Regions from separate parts of the Homo sapiens genome. Here regions 2 and 3 are each linked to region 1. The links are contacts of gene promoters, found by promoter capture Hi-C in blood cells and fetal thymus (Javierre and others, 2016). All regions are on one chromosome and are shown on one strand. Each heading gives the region's core, a stretch centred on a gene start or on the middle of the fragment in contact. The rest is flanking DNA. Distances are from core to core; before and after follow the strand shown.

What was found. Contacts are between HindIII fragments. The CHiCAGO score rates a contact against its expected background, and 5 or more counts as called.
Region 2: a fragment that was not itself captured here is called in contact with the fragment with the promoter of AK3 in region 1 in 1 of 17 cell types (neutrophils); the score reaches 5.1 in neutrophils.
Region 3: a contact is called between a fragment that was not itself captured here and the fragment with the promoter of AK3 in region 1, in 1 of 17 cell types (neutrophils). The highest score is 5.3, in neutrophils.

Annotation. Positions count from the first base shown.
Region 1 is chr9:4,739,952-4,742,451 of GRCh38, reverse strand. AK3 (adenylate kinase 3) reads left to right here and starts at 1,250. Exons shown (of 5, transcript NM_016282.4): 1 at 1,250-1,515. The coding sequence starts at 1,365. RefSeq lists silencers at 861-1,350, 1,581-1,720. The HindIII fragment of the contact is 10,519 bases long and covers 368-2,500 here.
Region 2 is chr9:5,557,409-5,560,284 of GRCh38, reverse strand. PDCD1LG2 (programmed cell death 1 ligand 2) reads right to left here. Exons shown (of 7, transcript NM_025239.4): 5 at 2,533-2,667. All of the region lies in intron 1 of INCR1 (interferon stimulated noncoding RNA 1), which reads left to right. Among named protein-coding and RNA genes, the nearest start is that of PDCD1LG2, 48 kb to the right of the region's middle. The HindIII fragment of the contact is 2,654 bases long and covers 262-2,876 here.
Region 3 is chr9:5,577,338-5,580,638 of GRCh38, reverse strand. The region is part of intron 1 of INCR1 (interferon stimulated noncoding RNA 1); the gene reads left to right. Among named protein-coding and RNA genes, the nearest start is that of RIC1, 50 kb to the left of the region's middle. The HindIII fragment of the contact is 7,807 bases long and covers 1-3,301 here.

The sequences.
Region 1 (2,500 bases), core at 1-2,500:
ATCAGTTCTGGACCTCTGAGGAGAATGGTAACTGTGTTTTATTTTCAGAGAGCCTTCTTTCTGCCTTAGCATAGTGTCCGGGACAAAGCAATGATGATAAATGGACAACCATTATTGAACATTGACCCCGTAGCTGGCATTGCACTAAGTACTACATTATTTTAACTCCTCCATTCTACTCCTCTATGCCCATTTTACAGGCAAAATGATACTCACTCGAACGTTTTTGTCCTCTGTTTCCATTCTTGAAACATGCCAAACCTCCAGTTTTAGGGCCTTTTCCTAAAACTGGACATAGGAAGGGCCCATGTCTCTCTCTTCCATATTCTAATTAAGCACTCAGCACACATGCCATCTCTTCAAAGCTTTTCCGACCGCCTATCTACAACAGCCTGCCTCCACAGTTTCACACACTCTTTTACGTTATTTATAAAAGAGTCTCACTCAATGGAAGCTGGATTTCCTCTCCTGTAAAATGAGGTAGGCCCTCTCGGCTCAAGGTCACTCCCTGTGATTCTACACAGAGAGGGAGTGGGAAGAGAGGGCGCTCGGCAGCAGAGGAGGAGGAGGAAGGAGGGAAGGGCGAAGGCGGGAGTGGGTGCAGAAGCGGGGGGTCTGGCGGTCCAGGGGGGTAGAAGGGAGGGGCGGATTCGAGTGGGCGCCAGGTGGAGGTGGGGCCAGGGTTGTCAAGGGAGCACGAAAGGGGTCGCGGTGTGTCCGGCAAGGACTGGGTAGGGCAGCGCCTGCTATGGACTAGGGGCGAGGGCTACGAAAGGGTTGTTGGAGGGGTGGATGCGGGTGGATCCCGAAACCAAGCGGCTCCGAGGGGCGACTAGAGGTGGGGAGGGGGCGCGCAGGAGTTGCCAAGGTCGGACAGAGGGGAGCGCGGTCTATCCGGCTGGGAATGGGCCGGACAGGGCGCGGGGTTCCGGGGTCGCGGAGAGGCGCGGAGGTAGATCTGAGCCGAGTGGAGGGCGCGTGGGGGTGGGTGCAGAGGGGCGCCGAAGGGATCCGGGCCCAGCGGCCGGTGGAGAGGGGCCGCGGAGAGGCGCAGGTGGGAGCTGGGCGGCCGAGCGAGCGCAGAGGGGGCGCGGCTTGCGCGGCTTGCGCGGCTGGGCGGGAACAGGCGCTCGGTCGGGGGCGGGGGGTGCGCCGGGGTAGCCGAGAGGCGGACGCAACAGCGGGGTCCCGCGCTGTCTGGGCGGCCCCAGGGGCTGTCGGCTCACTTCCGGGAACGCCGGGGAACCGCAGTAGCCGCCTGCTAGTGGCGCTGCTAGCCGGCCGGCGCAGGCTGCCGAGCGGGTGAGCGCGCAGGCCAGGCCAAAGCCCTGGTACCCGCGCGGTGCGGGCCTCAGTCTGCGGCCATGGGGGCGTCCGCGCGGCTGCTGCGAGCGGTGATCATGGGGGCCCCGGGCTCGGGCAAGGGCACCGTGTCGTCGCGCATCACTACACACTTCGAGCTGAAGCACCTCTCCAGCGGGGACCTGCTCCGGGACAACATGCTGCGGGGCACAGGTGGGAGCTCTGGGCCCAGGGCCGGCCGTGCGCTGTCACCCGGGTCGGACTTCGCGGGCGAGGGGCCGAAGCTGGGCACGCGGGTCCCTGGCTGCGGGCGCGGCATTTCCCTCCCGCCGCCCGGGACAGAGACCTCGGGCTGCTGAGCGACTGCGCCCCAAAACCTCCGGCCTCCGTGGGCCGCTTCGGGCGGGTTATGGGGTGGCGGTGGGGGAAGGGACTGGAAAGTTAGGTCGAGCTCGAAGTTCAGAGATGAAAGGAAACCACCGGGCTTTGTTTCAGAGGCCCAAGTCCTCCCAGTGGCAGCCACTCTTGGGGGTCCATCGAGCTGAGCCGCAGCTTGTTCAACGTGCTGGTGCCTTTGGAAGACTGTCATTAGCCCTGCTAGAGTCTGCTCGTTCTGTTTTGTTTTCTTTGTTTCTTTCTTTTCTCTTTCTTTTTTGGTGTGGTTAAGCTCTATGAGATCTTGTAGTTCTGACCTTTCCCCCATATTCCCAAGGCCAAGTATTATTTACCCTTGTTGCAGTCATAAAATTATCTCATTTTGATATCCTTAGATTTCGTAGACACGAAGGCTATTCTTGTGCATGGTTCTATAAAATATTTTGTTTCTCATGCCAAATAAATTCTTACAGCTCGGCACGAAAGGCAGTTAACAATCTACACTATACAATGGGTGAATTTGTGGTATGTAAATTCTCTCTTAAGAGGGTTGTTTTTGAAAAGCCAATCGCAGGAGTTTTTTTCTCAAAAAATGTTGACCTTACTTTTCAAAATAGAACCCGTTTTGAAACTCATTTTGAAACCCATTTACATAGAAATAATGCTTCCACAAGGCCTTTTTCTTTTGTTTTCCTTCTTTTTTTTTTTTTTTTTGTAAGGATAGCAAACAGGATAGACGTGCATAGCATAAAAAACAACGCCCTCTTTCGTTCCCTACCTCAGTCCCATTCTTCGGAGGGGAACAGAGTTTTCCTTCTAGAAA
Region 2 (2,876 bases), core at 339-2,838, 820 kb before region 1:
AGAAGTACATGCTATAAGAGGGAGACACTGAACTTCTTGCTAAGATGGGCATGTGGGTACTTGAGGAATCAATTGGAAAATTAAAAGGGATGCAATTTAATTGGTAGTCCAAGCTATTAAAACAGATCCTAGACATGTGATTGTGTGCTGAGTATACTGAAAGAAGAAGTAGGTGCTATGGAAACATATAATAAGGGGATTTAATGTAATGGGTGTGGTGCGTGGAGGTAGAATTAGGAAAGACTTGATGAAGTATAAGCTTAGCTGAGATTTAAAAGATGACTCCAACTCAGGTGGACAACAAGAAAAAATATTTTAAGAAGAGACAATATTGTATGAGAAAACTCGGAATTGAAAGACTGCCATGCCTCTGAGGACTAGAAAATCCTGTGTGGTTAGAGCTTTAGACAATGAAGGTGATGGTGATGCAGTTAAAGCTGGAGACATGAGTCAAACCATCCTGGGCTCGTTGGAACTTCATCCAGTGAGCAATAAGAAGCCATGGAGAAGGTCTGGACAGAGGACACATGGTAGATTTATGATTTTTAAAAGCCTATTATAGCAAAAAGTGAGAACAGACCAAGTTGGAGGTAGCAGGAGTGAATACAGGGAAACCAGTTAGGAAGATTTCTCTGTAGTCCAAGTTGAACCACACTAGCGGCAGTGAAGTTCGGCCAATAAGCTGTAAAATGTTCCTTCTCTTGCTGCTTCCCCTTTTACAGATAGAAAGACCATCTCAAAGAAGATAGGCAATTTGTACAAGGTCAGAAAGCCAACAAATGGCAGCACAAGGTCCCAGCCTAGCCCTCTGACCCTGGTTTAAAGCTCTGTCTGCATCACCAGCAGTTCTCAACCCTTTTCCATGGCACACAAGTTTGTGTGCATGGCAGACACATGTAAGAAAGCAGATCTGAATGCAAGTGAGTTGGAGACAAGGGTTATATAGGCAACCATGATTTCTCTCTGGTTCATTAAAAATATAAAAGAAATTGTTTGCACATTTATTCACTTAATTCTTATTTGTAAGAAAGGTCTCCTAATCACAGTTAGAACTTGAGCTTTACCTCCCAGCTCGGAGCTACTGATATCCTCACTCACTCTTAAGATTGGGGTGAAGGATGAGGAGAGGATTTATTTCCACTCTATCTTTGAGTGTGACTCCATTCCATTCTCCCAAAGACAGCTGGAACGGAACACTCAGCTGCTCATTTCTGAAGTTATTAAGGAGTCCTCAGGCCCCAGGCCTTGAACCCTGAGGTATGGGTGTGAGAGGTAAAAGAAGAATGGCAGAAGATAAGACAACTGAGGTGCACCTGACACAACTCTCTGAAGTGGTTCTATTTAAAAGTCGAAGTTCTGTTGGACATACCTCCTCCTTTACCATGAAGCTCCCTTCCCTCCCACATTTATTTTTCTTTCTATCTTTCTTCTTCTCCATCTCCTGTTTTCTCTTTCTCCCTCACTCCCCTGGCCATCTTCTTCCCTCCCTCTGTCTTTTTCTTTTGGCAACAATTCCTTGCATTCTACAGTTAGAAATATTGTGGTCAGCACCCAAGTGAATACATACACACATAGGGCAATGGACAAATAGAACATGACAATATTTTATGGCAGATGAAAATATAGAAGTTATGAGTATAAATGTAAGATAACAACCACTTAAAATTCCCCTAGTCCTCAGATAGTGCTGCTGCAAACTCCTACTGAATTATTTCCACATGTCATTTCTCTTTCTATAGATGAGGCCATGTATAGATCTTTGGAGAAGTTCATTGAGTGCAGACAAGGGAGCCGTTTAGGAAAGCACCAGCTAGGCCTGCATACATTCTGGGGGTTTTGTGGGCAGGCTCCACCCAGGAAACCAAAGACAGACACATGAACAATGAAGCAATGAAATCAGGGCTGAAAGGCTTCAGCATGCTCTGTCCCAGCTGGTACAACAGAACAGGAGTGTGTTGGTAAGAATACAACAGGCTAAGGAGAAACTCGAAGGGAGCTGCTGAAAGACGTTAATGCACCACCAACCAGCTGTTTCCTTATCCCCAAATGGCCTCACAAACCTTTCTCCTTTCCTTACCCAACCGTGAGGTTGAGATTCCTGGGAGAGGGGGTGGGTTTAACCCAGGTCATATCCAGACTGGGGAAAAGAGGGGTGAAAATGGAAGGAATCCTCAGAAAGGATCCTGGCAACCTCCCACCAGCAAAATCGGAGCACGTAGCTCTCTGCATTGCCAAAATAACATCACTCTCATGAGGCTGATGAAAGCTCTTGGCTCAAAGAATAAGACAAACTCTTTCAGACATAAGAACAAAACATTCCCTTTAAAAAACTCAGTGTAAGAAGTTCAGCTCACTGACGATGAGAGCCATTTTCTTCTGGGGAAAAATAATCATCAAGACAAGCTCAAAGTGGTTCATAAGCTCTGAGTGGGTTTAGCATGAAAGCAGCAAGCCATAGGCCTGCAGTGCAAAGCAGTGGCTCATGCTGCAGACACCCAGTGCATTGGGTTACCATGAATAAAACTCACTTACCTTTTGAAGAATACAGCTTTTGACAGAGTTGTTTTCTTAGGGCTATCACTGTGGCTATGAAAATGAAAGCAATGATGCAGAAGGGGATGAAAATGTGAAGCAGCCAAGTTGGATGGGTCCTGGGTTCCATCTGACCTGGGCAAAGGAAAAGCACCAGAATCCTGTTACATGGCAACTAAGAGGTAGACCAACAGGCTGGCCACATGAGTGGGTGACAGCCAACACGGCTAGCTCTGTGGAGCATTTACTCCACACCAGGCCCTATTCTAAGTGCTCTGCACCTATCAGCTCATCCACTCCTCGCAACCACTCTGTGAAGTTGGCTCTGCTATGATCCCCATTTC
Region 3 (3,301 bases), core at 579-3,078, 840 kb before region 1:
TCCCCAGCCTTGCTTCCTGTATAGCCTGTGGAACTGTGAGTCAATAAAATCTCTTTTCTTTATAAATTACCCAGTCTTAGGTAGTTCTTTATAGCAATGCAAGAACGGACTAATACACGTGTAAAATAGACAAGACAATACACTAAGTTATGAAGTTTAAATGAGATCATACATGTGAAGCTATTAGAGCAATGTCTGGTGCATGGTATGGAGATTAGCTATAATGGCAAACTTAATTAAACCTCATTTTGGATACCAGCAATGAGACATTGGCAATCTAATGTTTCAAACCCAGCACAAGGAGGAACATGTAGTCCAAACCCTGCCCAGCACTTTAAAACAGACATATCCCATGACAGGCTGTAAATACATTATCAGGAAAGACAACGCACTGAAAATATATTTTGTCTGAAATTTAGAAATATGTCCCCCAGGGGTGTTATATGATAGTGATATTTTTCTTATAATAGACACCTAACACCTTCTGCTATACCTTCTAGTAGAAGTCCACAGATGCATTTGGGCAATTGCAACATCTTAGCACAAAAGATGTCACTTTGATTCACTCTCCACTTTCAGTTCATGTGGTCTGGGTGGAGCTCCAGATGTAAGATATCACTTACATACTCTTTCTTTCAGTGACTGGTTCTGGAGAGGGCACAGCACATAAGTTTTCCACTGTAAATCTCAGGATTTTGCTGAGAATGCTGAGAAAAATACTCTGGCTTTTTTTTCTTGTAAAATATTTGAATCTGAAAGGTTTAATAATCATTGGCATCCATCTTGTAATTATGAGGAGATATCTTGTCTGAGAATGGCATCAACAAAAAGGAAACAGAGTGAAGAAATGATAGAGACAATTTGAATCCTGAAGACATTTGTTAGACCCCCTATACCCAGTTGCACATTTGGCTGCTCAGTTACATAAGCCAACACATTATCTTTTAAAAATTTAAGCCAGTTTGCATCAGGTTTTCTCTCATTTGCAGCCAATGAATTTTGATACAACTTCTACAAAATGTACTTAAAGGCCCGGGTGCGGTGGCTCACGCCTGTAATCCCAGCACTTTGGGAGGCTGAGGTGGGCAGATCACGAGGTCAGGAGATTGAGACCATCCTGGCTAACACGGTGAAACCCCGTCTCTACTAAAAATACAAAAAATTAGCCGGGCATGGCGGCGCACACCTGTAGTCCTAGCTACTTGGGAGGCTGAGGCGGGAGAATGGCATGAACCTGGGAGGCGGAGCTAGTAGTGAGCCGAGATCTTGCCACTGCACTCCAGCCTGGGCGACAGAGTGAGACTCCGTCTCAAAAATAAATAAATAAATAAATAAATAAATAAATAAATAAATAAATAAATAAGTTTATTTTGTCCTATGCTCATGGTCAAAGCAGATGCCCAATTTTTATTTTTCTCATAAAACCAATCAACAAATATACATTGGGCCCTTGTTACAGGGTCAGATGCCACAGAGTTTAAGACAATTCCTTGTGCTACAATCTAATTGGAATTTATAGTCTCTTTATTTTTTATCTCTTAATGGATATGTCTCCACTTCATCCAGATAGATTTTGATTGAGGAGTGAGTTGGTTATGTACCTCCTGTTCTCAACTCTAAGTCCATCCTCCTCTCCTCTGCTCTGATGTGCCAGGGCTGGAATTTTGACAAACTTCATTTGCCAGCCTCCCTTGCCAGCTAGCTTCCTGTTAAGTTCAGTAAATGGGAAGGCCTTGGGGACTGGAAGGTGGGAGGGGGAATTATTTCCTGTTTCTAGTTCCTGAATGTGTCATGCCTGTAGCAATAGGTAGTAGAAAGGTAGCTGCTGTCTGTAGTTCTAATATTTGGCATCCACTTTTTTGCTCTTTCAGTCTTCTTATATCTTTATTACAAGTTCCTAATATTAAATACACTCTATTTTTATGACTGGACTCTGGCTGATACTAGCACTTGATACTAGGTGTGGTCATAGGAAACAGATTCTCAAATTCTGACATTCTGGGATTGATTTGATTTGTTGTTAGTGTTGGATTGGTTTGAATTGAGAGCTGAACTCTTTGCCACTAGTAATCTATGGCATGCATTGACATCATGGTTGATTAAATTATCATCTGTTCTTGCTAGGGTTGAATACCAATGAAAGGCAAGTTTCTGGAGGCCAAGTAGCTGTTGCATTTAACCATTATGGTAGTAAAGATGATTATAAGGAATGTAATGTGGGATGGCTGCTTCTGATTGCACCAGGGTGCTTACAGGAAGAAACTAACAAGTTTAGGGCTTTCACCTCAAATCATATTCAGAGCACCAGAGGGCTTCTAAGACTGCCCTGAAAGTACCTCTTATTCCTTCTAATTACAGGAATCACTAGACATGAAAGACATGACTGAAAAATTCAACCCAAATCAATCATTCACAGACTGGCTAAGTCTCATATGTGAAAGTTTTCTCAGTAATTTGAAAGGAGTAGGACTCTGAGACTAGGAATGGGGACATTTTGGTGGATTTGGATGAAACTGAGAATGTTGAAACCCCCAAGCATCCCTGAGTTTCCCTTGATAGTGGAAGAAGCCTCTCATTTCTTGTCTAATGATATTAGCCTTTCCTTGTTTGAAAGCCTGTAATAAGCCCATATGAGGCACTTGCCTTGCAAGGGAGATCCCTATTCTTTCTCAGCCCCAGTGCTCCCAACTCTCATGGCCTTTATTTAGAGTCAGTTCCCGGAATATACGGAGGTGGGAAGAGCAGAGTCTAGCTCAGCAGGAAAAGTCTTATACTTCAAAAGAATCATAAGATTTTGTTAACTTAACATTAGAGGAAACCAGGCTAGTATGTATGGGGATGAATTCTAAAGGTATTAGACCCAGGAGCACAGAAGATAACATTGAACTGGGGCCAAATTAAGGTAGTCCTGATATACTACACTTTCCAGATAGTTTTGGACTTAATGTTGTAGATGATTACAGTAGTGGTATCACGCCTTCATGTAATTCCTTTACACATTGATTTTTGGCATGGTTATGTGCTTGCTTTGGATAATGGAACATTATTAGCAAATGTGATACAAACAGAGACTTGGAAAGCACTTGCACATTGGGGTTTTCTTTCTTTTTTGCTGTTTTTGGATTAGACTCTATGTTGAAGATGCCTGGACTAACCTACTGAAGATACGTGGTTTTACCAACAGCCAGCACCAATAGGAAGATATGAATGAAGCCATCTGAGACCAGCCATCTGGCAGCCAAACTGCCAACTGACTGCAAATGCATGAATGATCCCACTGACACCACGTAGAGCACAAATG